Regions from separate parts of the Homo sapiens genome. Here region 2 is linked to region 1. Evidence: promoter capture Hi-C in human tissues and cell types (Jung and others, 2019). All regions are on one chromosome and are shown on one strand. The core of a region is centred on a gene start or on the middle of the fragment in contact, and the rest is flanking DNA. Distances in the headings are between cores, read along the strand shown.

Region 1 (6,910 bases), core at 3,608-6,107:
GATTTATCCTGGTGCTCTCTCTCTTCCTGTTCCCCCACCCTACCCACAGGCCCCATTGTTCCCCTGTCTGTGTCCATGTGTTTCCATTGTTCCGCTCCCACTTATAAGTGAGAACGTGTTTGGTTTTCTGTTCCTGTGTTAGTTTGCTGAGAATAATGGCTTCCAGCTCCATCCGTGCCCCTGCAAAGGACATGATCTCATTCCTTTTTATGGCTGCGTAGTATTCCATGGTATATATGTACCACATTTTCTTTACCCAGTCTATCATTGATGGACATTTGGGTTGATTCACTGATCATTAGAGAAATGCAAATCAAAACCAGAATGAGAAACCACCTCATACCGGTCAAAATGGCAATTATTAAAAAGTCAAGAAACAAAAGATGCTGGTAAGGCTGTGGAGAAATAGGGATGCTTTTATACTTTTGGTGGGAATGTAAGTTACTTCAACCCTTGTGGAAGATATTATGGCGATTCCTCAAAGACCTAGAACCAGAAATACCATTTGACCCAGCAGTCGCATTACTGATTTATATTCCTTTGGGAATGGGTTTGGTGGCTTGGGCACTTGGCAGTGCCCAAGGAATATATATTTATATTCCTTTGGGAATATAAATCATTCTATTATAAAGATACATGCACACCTATGTTCACTGCAGCACTATCCACTGTTTTTTGGAAAGAAGAAAATCCTTGCTTTAAACAACTCATAGTTTGGGGGAGGAGACAGCATGTGGGAAGGGCACTAGCTCAGCCAGGACACCTGCCTGGAAAGGCTTCCTGGACGGTGAGGCTCGCTCTGCTGAGCCTTCCATGGCTAAGAAGAACTCCAGTGGATTTCTGGGTGCAGTCCTTCTCCTTGTTCCGGATTTCCAGTTCTCTCCCTTTGAGGTTCCCAGAGAAGCAGTCAAGCTTGAGAAGTTGAGCAGGAAATAGAGGGAGAAAGTGACCAGGGAACAGAACTAGGGAGTGGGAAGAGATCTGAGATGAAGAGAGGGAATAGGCTAGCTACCGTTAAAACCAGTTTATAATTATTTCAAGTTTATTTTATTTTTTATTTTTATTTATTTATTTTTGAGATGGAGTCTCACTCTCGCCCAGGCTGGAGTGCAGTGGCACAATCTCGGCTCACTGCAACCTCTGCCTCCTGGGTTCAAGTGATTCTCCTGCCTCAGCGCCCCCAGTAGCTGGGATTACAGGCAGGTGCCACCACACCCGTCTAATTTTTGTATTTTTAGTAGAGACAGGGTTTCGCCATGTTGGCCAGGCTGGTCTCGAACCCCTGACCTCAGATAGTCCGCCTACCTTGGCCTCTCAAAGTGCTAGGATTACAGGCGTGAGCCACCGTGCCCGGCCTATTTATTTTTAAATTATTATTTATTTATTTATTTATTTATTTTTTTGAGAGAGGATCTTGCTCCATCACTCAGGCTGGAGTGCAGTGGTGTGATCATGGCTCCCTGCAGCCTCGATCTCCCAGCCTTAAGCGATCCTCCTGCCTCAGCCTTCTGAGTAGCTGGGACCACAGGCATGCACCACCATGCCCGGCTAATATTTCAAGTTTAGTAAATTCCACTGGATTTGAAGAACTTGGTTTTTCTGAGGAAAGTCCGTTGTAATGCACATAACGCCACAAGAGGTCTCCCTTTCCCTGAAATGCACTGGTTTAAAAGGCGGGACAAATGGTAGCTTGTCAGAAAGCTCTGGGCAGGTAAGGCCAGTACCAAATTTGGCAAAGAATCTTACTTAAACTTTTACAAAGTCAAAGTATCCCTTTACCAGTAACTTCGTTTTGCAGTTTAAAACATGAGAATAAGGAGTGCTTCGATGTCAAGATATTTAATATTTAGGAGGGGTTCTCTCTTCCCTCTTTGAGGACTATTTTATTAAGCCTGAAAAGTAATTTAGTATGTAAGAGTAACTCTCATAAGAGCTAACACTGATTATATGTGTAATGTGTTCTGAGCCTTTTTACAGTATTAACTGTGTAATCCTCACCCAGTTAGATAAGGTAGATACTGTTATTCTTGATACCAATAATCCTCTGAGGTAGGGACTTTTACAGATGAATAATTTGCAGTTTAGAGAAATTAACAATTGGTCCAAGGTCACACAGCTTGTGAGGGGCAGGACTGGGATTTGAAGACATATCTAACTCCAAAACTACTGGATTCATGAATAAATGGATTCATGAATTTTTATGTTATTAAACAGTATCTTAATTTGAAATTTTACCTTGGTTTTGTTGTTGTTGTTGTTTTCTATCTATTTATTTATTTTTTGAAACAGGGTTGCCAGGCTGGAGTGCAGTGGCACAAATATGGCTCATTGCAGCCTCCAACTCCTTGACTCAGCGATCCTCCTTGCCTCAACTTCCCATGTAGCTGGGACCACAGATGTGTATCACCACACCTGGCTAATTAAAAAAAAAAATTTTTAATTGTAGAGGCGGGGTCTCACTGTGTTGTCCAGGCTGGTCTCAAACACCTGGGCTCAAGCAATCCTCCAGCCTTGGCCTCCCAAAGTGCTGGGATTACAGGTGTGAGCCACTATAACAAGCACTTACAGTGTTTTTAACCAGAGATGAAAATCAGATTCATCTGAGGAGCTTTTAAAAGAATTCGACTGCCCAAGTCTTCTCCCAGGACAATCTAATTCTGTAGGTCTCGGGTGGGGCTCTCGGATCTCTTTATGTTTTTAAGTCTGTAAGTGATTCTTATGTGTAGTAACCCTGGGTAGACAGCTACCCTAGGGAGCTGCTATGGATGAACAGTGGTTAAATTCCCATAGGTAGAACACCCTGCTAAGATGTAGCAATGGCTGCCTGGCATAAACATATGATTACGGTATTGAATCTGCAGCTCAAACTCCCCTAGCTTCCAGTTTGAGATGCTCTTCCCTTGACAGCAGAGCTAGAAAGAAGTTTGTGATTCTCCAAAGACCTAGTGAGAAGTGGCGAAAGCAGAACTCCCTGGGAGTAGCCCTGAGATGTTCTTAGAAGTGAATTGTGCAAGCAGGCTGTCAGTCAGCCTGGCCAGGGCTCACACCTAACCACCCAGAGGAAACAGTTTTTATCCACTACGTGCTCCCTGTCAGCTTGGCAAACAGACGGTGACAGTGAGCCCAAGAGGCTGGGTGCCTCTACCTGGTGGTGAAACGCAGATATAGAAGGGGCTCTTGAAGGTCAGCGGCTGTGACCAAGGATGGAACCAAGTCCTAAGAACAGGTAACCCACTGGAAGGAAAGCAGGGAACACTTTTTACCCACTCCCCAAACAGGAACAAGACTTCCGCAGTGACTTCACGTGGCCTAAGTTATCATGGGGTTTGGAAATATGTCAGATAAGTTCAAAGTCAGATAATTGTCTAATGTTCTCTAGTACCTTCTGTGCTTAGTTCTCTCTTTCTCTTCTGTCCCCATCTTCACACACACACTCACACACACACACTCACACATGGAAACACACACACTCTTACCACACACACATACAAACACACACACTCTTACCACACACACTCACACAAACACACACTTACCACACACACACAAACACACACACTCTTACCACACACACTCACATACACTCACACACACTCTCTCACACTCTCACAGACACACGTTCACACACACGCACAGACACACACACACACAGATCTTCCTAGTCTTGGTGGCTCTTACCTTTCCCAGAATTCCTCTATACTCCCATTAACCTTGGGCTTAGCTGGGATTTACAATCATTAGCTCTGGCCACAGCTTCTTGCCATGGAGATTTATTTGTTCTTTTTACTGGAGTTTGGTGGGAACCTGAGTGGCTGGGAATCCACCCAGGCCCTTCTCTCCTGGCCCTGCCCCAAGAGCTTTCTGAAGTCTGGCCTCACAGGCTCCTAGGACACTAGAGCAAAAGACAGCTCAGAAAGGGAAATTTTAAAAAATCATGACCCTTGAGAATTTCTGAGAGGACCTCATTACAACACAACCCTGTGTTGACAGGAAGGGGACTCCTTTGACCTTCAGGGTCTGCTGGGTCTGCGGCAGGGGGCAGGGAGGGCGCCGAGGCATCAAGGGGTGGGGAGAGGAAGCTAGCGGGACGCCCAGTCTGTGTCTCAGGCAGAGAGGAGGGCAGGCTCCTCTCCCTTCTCTTTGCCCTTCAGGAGAAAGAGAAAGGGAATAGATGGTTGCTTCTTGCACCAAGTTCTCCCCGGCTTCCAGGGGTGGAGGGAGCTCAGGGTGGTGAGTGAGCACTGGACTGAGATTCTGTGTATCTTCCAGACCCTGTTTCCACAGCCTCCCCTCTCTTTCTGACTTCCCTCCTCTGCTTTCGGAAGCACATGTGAAACTGTCTCCATTCCTTTCTCTTTAGGTCACTGGATTCCTTGATGGGGCTGGCAGTGGTGCTGTAACCCCAGGTCCCCTTAGGGCATGTGAGTGGTGATGGGGCTGAGATCTGCCAACCTCCTCGCTCTGGGGGATTTTCAGTGTTCCAGGACTGGGTGTTCTGCTGGTCTCCCTCTCCCCTCCCTTCCCCGATTCCCCGGTGCCCTCCCTGCGCGCAGACCCAGGGGACTCTGAGAATGGAAGGGAGCTCTCATTCCCGGGAGGAAAAGACACCAGGTTCCCTGGGCTGCCTGCACTCAGTTCTCAGCCTCCTTCCTCATGCCTCCAGCCACTGCCCGGGTCTGCGGCACGGGCGCGATTTGAAATACCCCTCCTTCCCGCTTTGAAGAAGGCTGGGCTGGCTGGGGGTTATTTTGGGAGCAGCTTCTGAGATCCAATGGCCTTGTTAGGGCAACACTGACCTTTCCGTCCCAGAAGGAGGGCAGGATTGGAGAAGGGGGCGGGGCAGCGGCGGGGAGACCGACAGCCCCGCACACCCACTGGGGTGGAGAAGGGGGCCAGCGGGCTGCGGGAATTCAGCCTCCGGCGGGGGCTGCCACCGAGGGGAATTTCCCCTCTTTGAAAAGGCTGGGGACCCCTCCACCCCACCCTTTCACTGGGCTTCTTAAAGAGATCACACCGTTTTCCCTTGGACTTCTTGGAAGGCAGACTTGGGACGCTTTGTGGGGACTTTGAACCTTTCCTTCCTGCTTTCTTTCCAGCAGGCAGCCTTGCTCTGGCTGGTGGAGTCGGGGCTCCCGGGCATGGCACTGACTAGCCGACCCGGTGCTGACTTGGCGCCGGGGCTCTTTCAGCCTCTGCTGGCATCCTGCTTCCCCCCTCCTGGGGTGCAGTGGTGAGTCTGGGGGCCTGCCCCCGAGGGCACTGGAGGAGTGTTGCAGGCATCACCCACGCCCTCTGCACCCACGCTGGAGGACGGGGAGGTTGTCAGGGGCTATGATGAGATGAGTGGGGGCCGCTTCGACTTTGATGATGGAGGGGCGTACTGCGGGGGCTGGGAGGGGGGAAAGGCCCATGGGCATGGACTGTGCACAGGCCCCAAGGGCCAGGGCGAATACTCTGGCTCCTGGAACTTTGGCTTTGAGGTGGCAGGTGTCTACACCTGGCCCAGCGGAAACACCTTTGAGGGATACTGGAGCCAGGGCAAACGGCATGGGCTGGGCATAGAGACCAAGGGGCGCTGGCTCTACAAGGGCGAGTGGACACATGGCTTCAAGGGACGCTACGGAATCCGGCAGAGCTCAAGCAGCGGTGCCAAGTATGAGGGCACCTGGAACAATGGCCTGCAAGACGGCTATGGCACCGAGACCTATGCTGATGGAGGTGAGGCCAGCTGGGGGCCCGCAGAGGTGGGGTGGAGCCAGGGAGGGTGAGAAACCCTGGTGGAGGGTGGGAAAGGCGACCGGCAATTGGCACAGAATCAGATGGGCTAGGAAGTGATTTGCTGTGTGGTTTTGGGCAAGCTGCTCTACCTTTCTGAGCTTCCATTTTCTTGTAGTAAAGATGGAGCTAATAAAGGGGTTATTGAGAGGATTAGTGGCAGTGCTTAGTACAAAGCCTGCCATGTAAGTGCACACTCAACACACAATAAAATATAACTACTACCATTAGCATGTTCGGTATGCCCCAACATAAACAGCCATGGAATATACTCTAGCAGAATTAGGGTCTAGTCTTAACTTTGCCATGAAAATTATTTTCAAGCAATAGATCATGAGGAGTATTCATCCACCCACCCATCCATCCATCCACCCATCCAACTATCCACTCATCATCTATCCACACACCAATCCACCCACCCGTCCATCCATCCATTCATCCATCCACCCACCTGCCTGCCCATCCATCCATCTACCCACCCACGCATTCATGCTTCCACCCAACCATTCATCTACCCATCCAGCCATTCATACATCTACCTGCCCATCCACCCATCCATCTTTCCATCCATCCATCCATCCATCCATCCATCCATCCATCTATGATCCATCCATGGATTCTTTTTTTTTTTTTCCAAGACAAGTTCTCGTTCTGTTGCCCAGGCTGGAGTGTTGTGGCATGATCTCGGCTCTTTGCAGCCTTGATCTCCCAGGATCAAGTGGTCCACCAACCTCAGCTTCCCTAGTAATTGGGACTACAGGTGTGCACCACCATGCCTGGCTAATTTTTGTATTATTATTTTTTTTTTTGTAGAGACAGGGCTTTTCCATATTGCCCAGACTGGTCTCAAACTTCGGAGCTCAAGCAATCTGCCTGTCTCGGCCTCCCAAATTGCTGGGATTACAGGTGTGGGACACTGTGCCGGGCCTACATTCCTTTTGTGTTTCCTTTTTTAAATTTTTTAAAGATAGGTCTTGCTTTGTTGCTCAGGCTGAAGTGCGGTGGCACAATCACAGCTCACTGCAACCTTGAACTCCTGGGCTCAAGCAATCCTCCCATCTTGGCCTCCTGAGTAGCTGGAACTACAAGGCACATGCCACCAAGCCTAGCTAATTAATTGTTTTTTCTTTTTTTG
Region 2 (7,225 bases), core at 1,837-4,336, 490 kb before region 1:
GGGTGGTGGGATTCTGGATGACAGAGTTCCCCCCTCAGCAACCGCCACCCCATTCTCCCAACTTTCTATGTTATTGCATCGCCTTTACAATGGTAGAAAAGAGAGACCAGGAGGAACGTAACTGAGCACTTACTATGTGTGAGATGTTTCCATTTATCCTTTCCCTAATTCTGCAGGCTCTACACGGCAAGCCCATGTCTGTGTTGCTTGCTGCTGTTTTCCCAGTGCCCAGCACCGTACCTGGCATGTCGTTGGTCCTCAAAACATACTTGTTTAGCAGTCAAAGAAATGATTTGTGCAAAGTTTACAAATGAGGAAATTGAGGTTCAAAGAGGTTATGTGACTTGTTCAATATCACCTAGCTAGTGGGACGCAGGACCAGGATCATTGGACTTCAGGTCCTGAGGAAGGTCTTTCTACTCATGCCTGTCCCTCTGCCTCCTCACATTCCGACACCCTCTTTGTAAAGCTGTCTTATTTTACAGGCATCTGATCAGGCGGCCTGCAAGAAGAGTGCGCCCCCTTAGCCAGTATGGCCACGCTTCCTCCCTTAGGGGCTGCTGGGTGTGCCCCTCATCTTCTCAACCCCCTGGGGACCCCTGGAGGATCTGGAGCACACCCTCCAGCTGGGGGATTTGCCCAGCAGGTGAGGCCCCTTAGTCGCTGTAGCCCATTTGGAAGTTTGGCAGGTGGATTTCTAGTGCAAGGCCACCTCTGCCCTCTGAGCTCAGAGCCACCTATTTCTGCCCCACCCAGTCCTGCACACAGCTGGTAGCAGGTGCAGGGAGGAGGCAAAAGCCAGACTTTGCCCCTTTATCTTGCACCCCTTTTCCCATTCTCAGGCAGATGTGTGTCCAAAAGTGTTTGACCTGTGCTGTGTGCATATGGGAATATGCACATATATACATGCGTGTCCCCATGCACATACCTGTGGACATGGGCAGCCCTGTGTGTGAGCACACATGTGTGTCTGAGTGTGGCTTGTGCGATCCTCCATGTGCCCATGGGTGCAGACGTGAATCCGAGTGTGAACGTGAGCTTATATGTAGCTCTGCATGTGTGTGGGTAATGCTGAAGGATAGACCACCAAGCAGAAGGGCATCTCCTTGCCCCGCCTCAGTTTCCTCATCTGTAAAATGGGGACAACAATGGCACCTAACAGGTGGAACCGGCAAGGCACACAGTAAGTGTCATGATAGTAGCCCTTTTTATTAAGCTTCTCGGGGATGTGTGCGGATTCCACAAAATAAGAACGCAGAAAGGGACTGGCTCAAGAAATGTTTCTCCCATCATTCTTTCATCCTTAGGTCCAGAAGTATTTCTTCTGTTCTCTTGGTTTTATCACTGCAAAGGTAATATAACAACAGTGGAGGAAGTTTGAGAAGAAAACATGGGGAAGGGGAGATACCTGTCCCCCAAAACCCCACCACTCCCGACACAAGAAGGAATTTCATTTTTGCTTGTTCTTTTCCTGACTTTGTCCATGAGCCAGCATGGAGCTTGGCACACAGCGCCGAGCTCGAAAAAAATATTTGGATGTTTTAACAAATATATATTAGCTAAAATGACTACACTGAGTATTTTTCCATCCTGCATTTGTTCACACATCAGGGACATTTTCCATATGATAGCTGGTCTTTATAGTTATTATAATTATTATTATTATTTTGAGATGGAGTCTGACTCTCTCGCCTGGGCCGGAGTGCAGTGGCTCAATCTCGGCTCACTGCAACCTCCGCCTCCCAGGTTTAAGCGATTGTCCTGCCTAAGCCTTCTGAGTAGCTGGGATTACAGGCATGCACCACCATGACAGGGTAATTTTTGTATTTTTAATAGAGATGAGTTTTCACCATGTTGGCCAGGCTGGTCTTGAACTCCTGACCTCCAGTGATCTGCCCACCTTGGCTTCCCAAAGTGCTGAGATTACAGGCATGAGCCACCACGCCCAGCCCAGTATTTATAATTATTAAAGATAATAGGCCAGGCGCGGTGGCTCACGCCTGTAATCCCAGCACTTTGGGAGGCCGAGGTGGGCAGATCATGAGGTCAGGAGATGGAGGCCATCCTGGCCACATTTCACAATGTGGCCTAGTGTTTCCACATTGTGAAACCCCATCTCTACTAAAAATACAAAAATTAGCCGGGAGTGGTGGTATGTTCCTGTAGTCCCAGCTACTTGGGAGGCTGAGGGAGGAGAATCACTTGAACCCGGGAGGCAGAGGTTGCAGTGAGCTGAGATCATGCCACTGCACTCCAGCCTGTGACAAAGTAAGACTCTGTCTCAAAAAAAAAAAAAAATTAGGAACTACCTACTGCTATAGACGAGTCACTTGTATTAAGAAATGTTATGTCGCAGTAATGAACATCTTTTTCCATCTAGAATTTTTTTTCTTTCTTTGGAACAGGTTAGTGTTTCCACACTGGGAATAGGGTGTCCCAGAATTTATAAAGGGGATTCCACTGAAAAAAACCAGAAACATTAACCGTCAAGGCCATGCAAATCAAAGCCACAATGAGATCCCACTACACACCCCCACGAGGATGGCTACAATAAAAAAGACAAACAATAATAAGTGTTGGTAAGGAATCAGAGAAATCAGAACTCTCATACATTGCTGACAGGGATGAAAAAAGTGAACAAAGCCAGTCATAAAAGACCACAGGCCTGGACGCACTGGCTCATGCCTGTAATCCCAGCACTTTGGGAGGCCAGGGTGGGAGGATCACTTGAGCCCAGGAGTTCTAGACTAGCCTGGGCAACATAGGGAGAACCCATCTCTACAAACAATTTTTTAAAAATTTGCTGGGCATGGCGGTGCACTGTGGTCCCAGCTACTTGGGAGGCTGAGCAGGGAGGGTCATGTGAGCCCTGGAGTTCGAGGCTGCAGTGAGCTGTGATTGCACTGTTGCACTCCAGCCTGGGCAAGAGAAGGAGACCCTGTCTCAAAAGAAAAAAAAAAAGACCCCATGTTGCATGACTTCTTTTCTATGAAACATCTAGAAAGAGCAAATCCATAGAGACAGAAAGTAATTGGCAGTTACCTGGGGCCAGAGGGGGGTCGGCTGCAGGACTGACTGCTGATAGGTACAGGGTTTCTGTGGGGGATAATGAAAAAGTGCCAAAATTGATTGTGACAAATATATAAAAAACTATTGAATTGTACACTTTATCTGTTGTTGTTGTTTTTGAGACAGAGTCTTGCTCTGTTGCCCAGGCTAGAGTGTAGTGGCATGACCTTGGCTCACTGCAACCTCCATCTCCCGGGTTCAAGCGATCCTCCTGCCGCAGTCTCCCGAGTAGCTGGGATTACAGGCGCCCACCACCATGCCCAGCTAATTTGTGTATTTTTTGTAGAGATGGGGTTTCACCATGTTGGCCAGGCTGGTCTCGAACTCCTGACCTCAAGTGATCTGCCCGCCTCGGCCTCCCAAAGTGCCAGGATTACAGGCATGAGCCACCACACCCTGCCTGAATTGTACACTTTAAATGGGTGAATTGTATGGCATGTGAATTTTATCTCAATAAAGCTGTTATAATCAAGTATTTTTTTAAAAAGGATGGAGACCCAAGATGACAATAAAAATGCACGCCGTCATTTACTGGGAGCAGGGACTATCGCCAAGACTCATTAATCTCATGTATCTTTCACAATAACCCTATTGGCTTATTTTCCCCATTTTACAGATAAGGACGCTGAGATTCAGAATGACTAAGTAACTGGCCCAACGGCACTTAGTTTTTTAGCGGTAGAGGTGTGATTTGAACCCAAGCTCATGCTCAATTTGAAGTACTTTTGTTGCCTCTTTAGAAGGCACCAGGAGCTAACGCACCAGGCCGACAGCACAGACAGGGGCCCAGGATCGGGGCCTCCTCTCTCCCCTGCCATTATCTGGCCTGGGCAGCCACAGCTCACAATCAGGGCTCTCTATCTCTCCCTCAGGCCTTCTCCCTGCATCTCCCTGTGTATGGCCCCTCCAGTAGAAACCCAGTGGAGGCTGATCTGGCAAACAGATCTGACTCAGGCCTCTCCAAGGCAGCTCTCAATCCTGTCCACCAAGTAGCCTCCGAGACTTCCCAACTTTACCGCACAGAAATAATAATACGTGTGCACAAAGATGCACAGACAAAGATGTTCAACATAGCATTGTTTCTAAGAGGGAAAAACTAGAAAGAACCTAAATGTCTGACACTGGAGAACCAGTTATTCCACGACGTAATGCTCAGCCCTTAAAAATCCTATAGCAGAAGGATCCTTTCTGACATAGAAAAATGTTCACAGTATATCAAGTGAGAAAAGCAGAGCCCTCCTAGCCGCTGCCGCCTGCCCCCCAGGCCAACCCCTGTTTGCATCTACAATCCAGCCACATTAACCCCCTTCTGGTCCCCCAAATGCTCCAGGCTTTCTCTTCTCAGGCGTTTGCAGTTGCTTCTTCCTCTGCCTGGAATCCACTTCCCATCCCATCCCTTGTCGTTCTCTTTCAAGCTGGCTAACTCTGCTGCAGCCTTCAGGTCTCAGCTGAGCTCTCTCTTCCCCTGGGAAGGACCCTTGGGCCCTCAGGATGGGGCAGGGTCCCTCCTCTGTGCTCTCACGGCCCTGTGGGTCACCCATCATGGCCCCCATCACCCTCTCTGTGACTGGCCATTTAAATGTCTGCCGCCTGCATTTGACTCCAGAAGACAAGTCCAGACCTGTCTAACTGGCCTGACACTGCTTTCTTAGTGTCTTATCTCAGAGGAGGCCTCTTCCAGTGACTTCTGTGGCAACTGGAGCAAAAGCCAGACTGCTCTTCATGTTCTCCAAGGCCTTGCTTGGTCTGGCCAGTGCCACATGTTTTCCAACATGCCAAATGCATGCCTGCCTCAGGACCTATGCATTTGCTGTTTCTTCTGCCTGGAATAAATGAAAAATAAATAAATACTTTTTTTTTTTTTTTTTTTGGAGATGGAGTCCTTTCTGTTGTGCAGGCTGGAGAGTAGTGGCACGACCTTGGCTCACTGCAACCTCTGCCTCCCGGGTTCAAGTGATCCTCCCACCTCAGCCTCCCAAGTAGCTGGGACTACAGGCATGTGCCACCATGCTCAGCTAATTTTTTTTTGTATTTTTATTAGGGATGGGATTTTGCCATGTTGCCCAGGCTGGTCTCAAACTCCTGGCCTCAAGTGATCCGCCTGCCTCAGTCTCCCAAAGTGCTAAAATTACAGGCATGAGCCACAGTGCCCAGCCATAAATACAATAATTTTTTTTTTTTAAAGAAAATTTAGGCCGGGTGTGGTGGCTCACACCTGTAATCCCAGCACTTTGGGAGGCCAAGGCGGGTGGATCACGAGGTCAGGAGATCAAGACCATCCTGGCTAACATGGTGAAACCCCGTCTCTACTAAAAATACAAAAAATTAGCCAGGCATGGTGTCAGGCGCCTATAGTCCCAGCTACTTGGGAGGCTGAAGCAGGAGAATGGCGTGAACCCAGGAGGTGGAGCTTGCAGTGAGCCGAGATCGTGCCACTGCACTCCAGCCTGGGCGACAGAGTGAGCATCTCAAAAAAGAAAAAAGAAAATTTAGTGCTTTGTTGATTTAAATAAAATTATCCTTGGTATTTTAGTGAGGAAATACTTCAAAGCATGACTTTACCTATCTCAAAAGCAGATATTGTTATGTGCTATTAGGATATCTGGACACCCTGCCACCATAGGAGTTTGCCCTTGCAGGCATTACTAAATCGCTTCCTTCACCCAAAACATATCATGGCCATGAGTTGTGACTGCCAAGGAATGTGCCTTGCTAGTTTGAAGATGCAGTTGATTTTATTATTTTATTATTTTATTTTATTTTTTGAGACAGAGTGTCACACTGTCACCCAAGCTGGAGTGCAGTGACACGATCTCAGCTCACTGCAAACTCTGCCTCCCGGGCTCAAGCAATTCTCCTGCCTCAGCCTCTCAAGTAGCTGGGATTACAGGTGCCCACCATCATGCCCAACTAATTGTTGTACTTTTAATAGAGATGGGGTTTCTCCATGTTGGCCAGGCTGGCTTTGAACTCCTGACCTCAGGTGATCCGCCCACCTCAGCCTCCCAAAGTGCTGGGATTACAGGCATGAGCCACTGTGCCCAGCCACAATTGATTTTAAAATGGTGTCACCCTGACTCTGTTATGCTCCTGTTTCCCTAACAGTGTCACCATGGACCCAGCCTCTTGCCATCTTTGCACTCTGCCAATGTCAGTGTGTTGGCAAAGTGAGTTTAAAATTGTAGTCATTCATCTAGCCAAAGTGATGATTCAAATATTTCAAAAAGCAAACTTTTACTCTTTCATAGAGAGGAGACTGAATTTTCCAAACAATCAAAATGTCACGTGCGTCTGTGTGAAGAGACCACCAAACAGGCTTTGTGTGAGCAACAAAGCTGTTTATTTCACCTGGGTGCAGGCGGGCTGAGTCCGAAAAGAGAGTCAGCAAAGGGTGGTGGGTTTATTATTAGTTCTTATAGGTTTTGGGATAGGCGGTGGAGTTAGGAGCAATGTTTTGCAGGCAGGGGTTGGATCTCACAAAGTACATTCTCAAGGGTGGGGAGAATTACAAAGAACCTTCTTAAGGGTCGGGGGGGGGGTTACAAAGAACCTTCTTAAGGGTGGGGGAGATTATAAAATACATTGATCAGTTAGGGTGGGGCAGAAACAAATCACAATGGTGGAAAGTCATCAGTTAAGGCTATTTTCACTTCTTTTGTGGATCTTCAGTTGCTTCAGGCCATCTGGATGTATACAGGCAGGTCACAGGGGATATGATGGCTTAGCTTGGGCTCAGAGGCCTGACATTCCTGTCTTCTTATATTAATAAGAAAAGCAAAACAAAATAGTGGTGAAGTGTTGGAGTGGCGAAAAATTTTGGGGCTGGTATGGAGAGATAATGGGCAATGTTTCTCAGGGCTGCTTCGAGTGGGATTGGGGCAGCATGGGAACCTACAGTGGGAGAGATTCAACTGAAGAAAGATTTTGGGGTAAGGGGTGGTATTGTGGGGTTGTTAGAAGGAGCATTTGTCATACAGAATTATTGGTGATGGCCTGGATGCGGTTTTGTGTGAATTGAGAAACTAAATGAAAGACACAAGGTCTGAATAAAAGGAGAGAAATAGGTATTAAAGGACTAAGAAGTGGGAGGACCCAGGACATCCAATTAGAGAGTGCCCAAGGCTGTTCAGCGTAATTACTTGCTTGGTTGTTGAGT

Evidence for each region. The method cuts DNA at HindIII sites, captures the fragments that hold promoters and counts their contacts. A contact is called where the count stands out against the background at its distance.
Region 2: a fragment that was not itself captured here is called in contact with the fragment with the promoter of JPH2 in region 1 in 1 of the 25 tissues and cell types used here (thymus).

Annotation. Positions count from the first base shown.
Region 1 is chr20:44,185,135-44,192,044 of GRCh38, reverse strand. JPH2 (junctophilin 2) reads left to right here and starts at 4,857. Exons shown (of 6, transcript NM_020433.5): 1 at 4,857-5,718. The coding sequence starts at 5,340. The HindIII fragment of the contact is 16,539 bases long and covers 1-6,910 here.
Region 2 is chr20:44,675,898-44,683,122 of GRCh38, reverse strand. No RefSeq gene overlaps it. Among named protein-coding and RNA genes, the nearest start is that of LINC01260, 7.8 kb to the right of the region's middle. RefSeq lists enhancers at 4,155-4,655, 4,656-5,156. The HindIII fragment of the contact is 5,149 bases long and covers 512-5,660 here.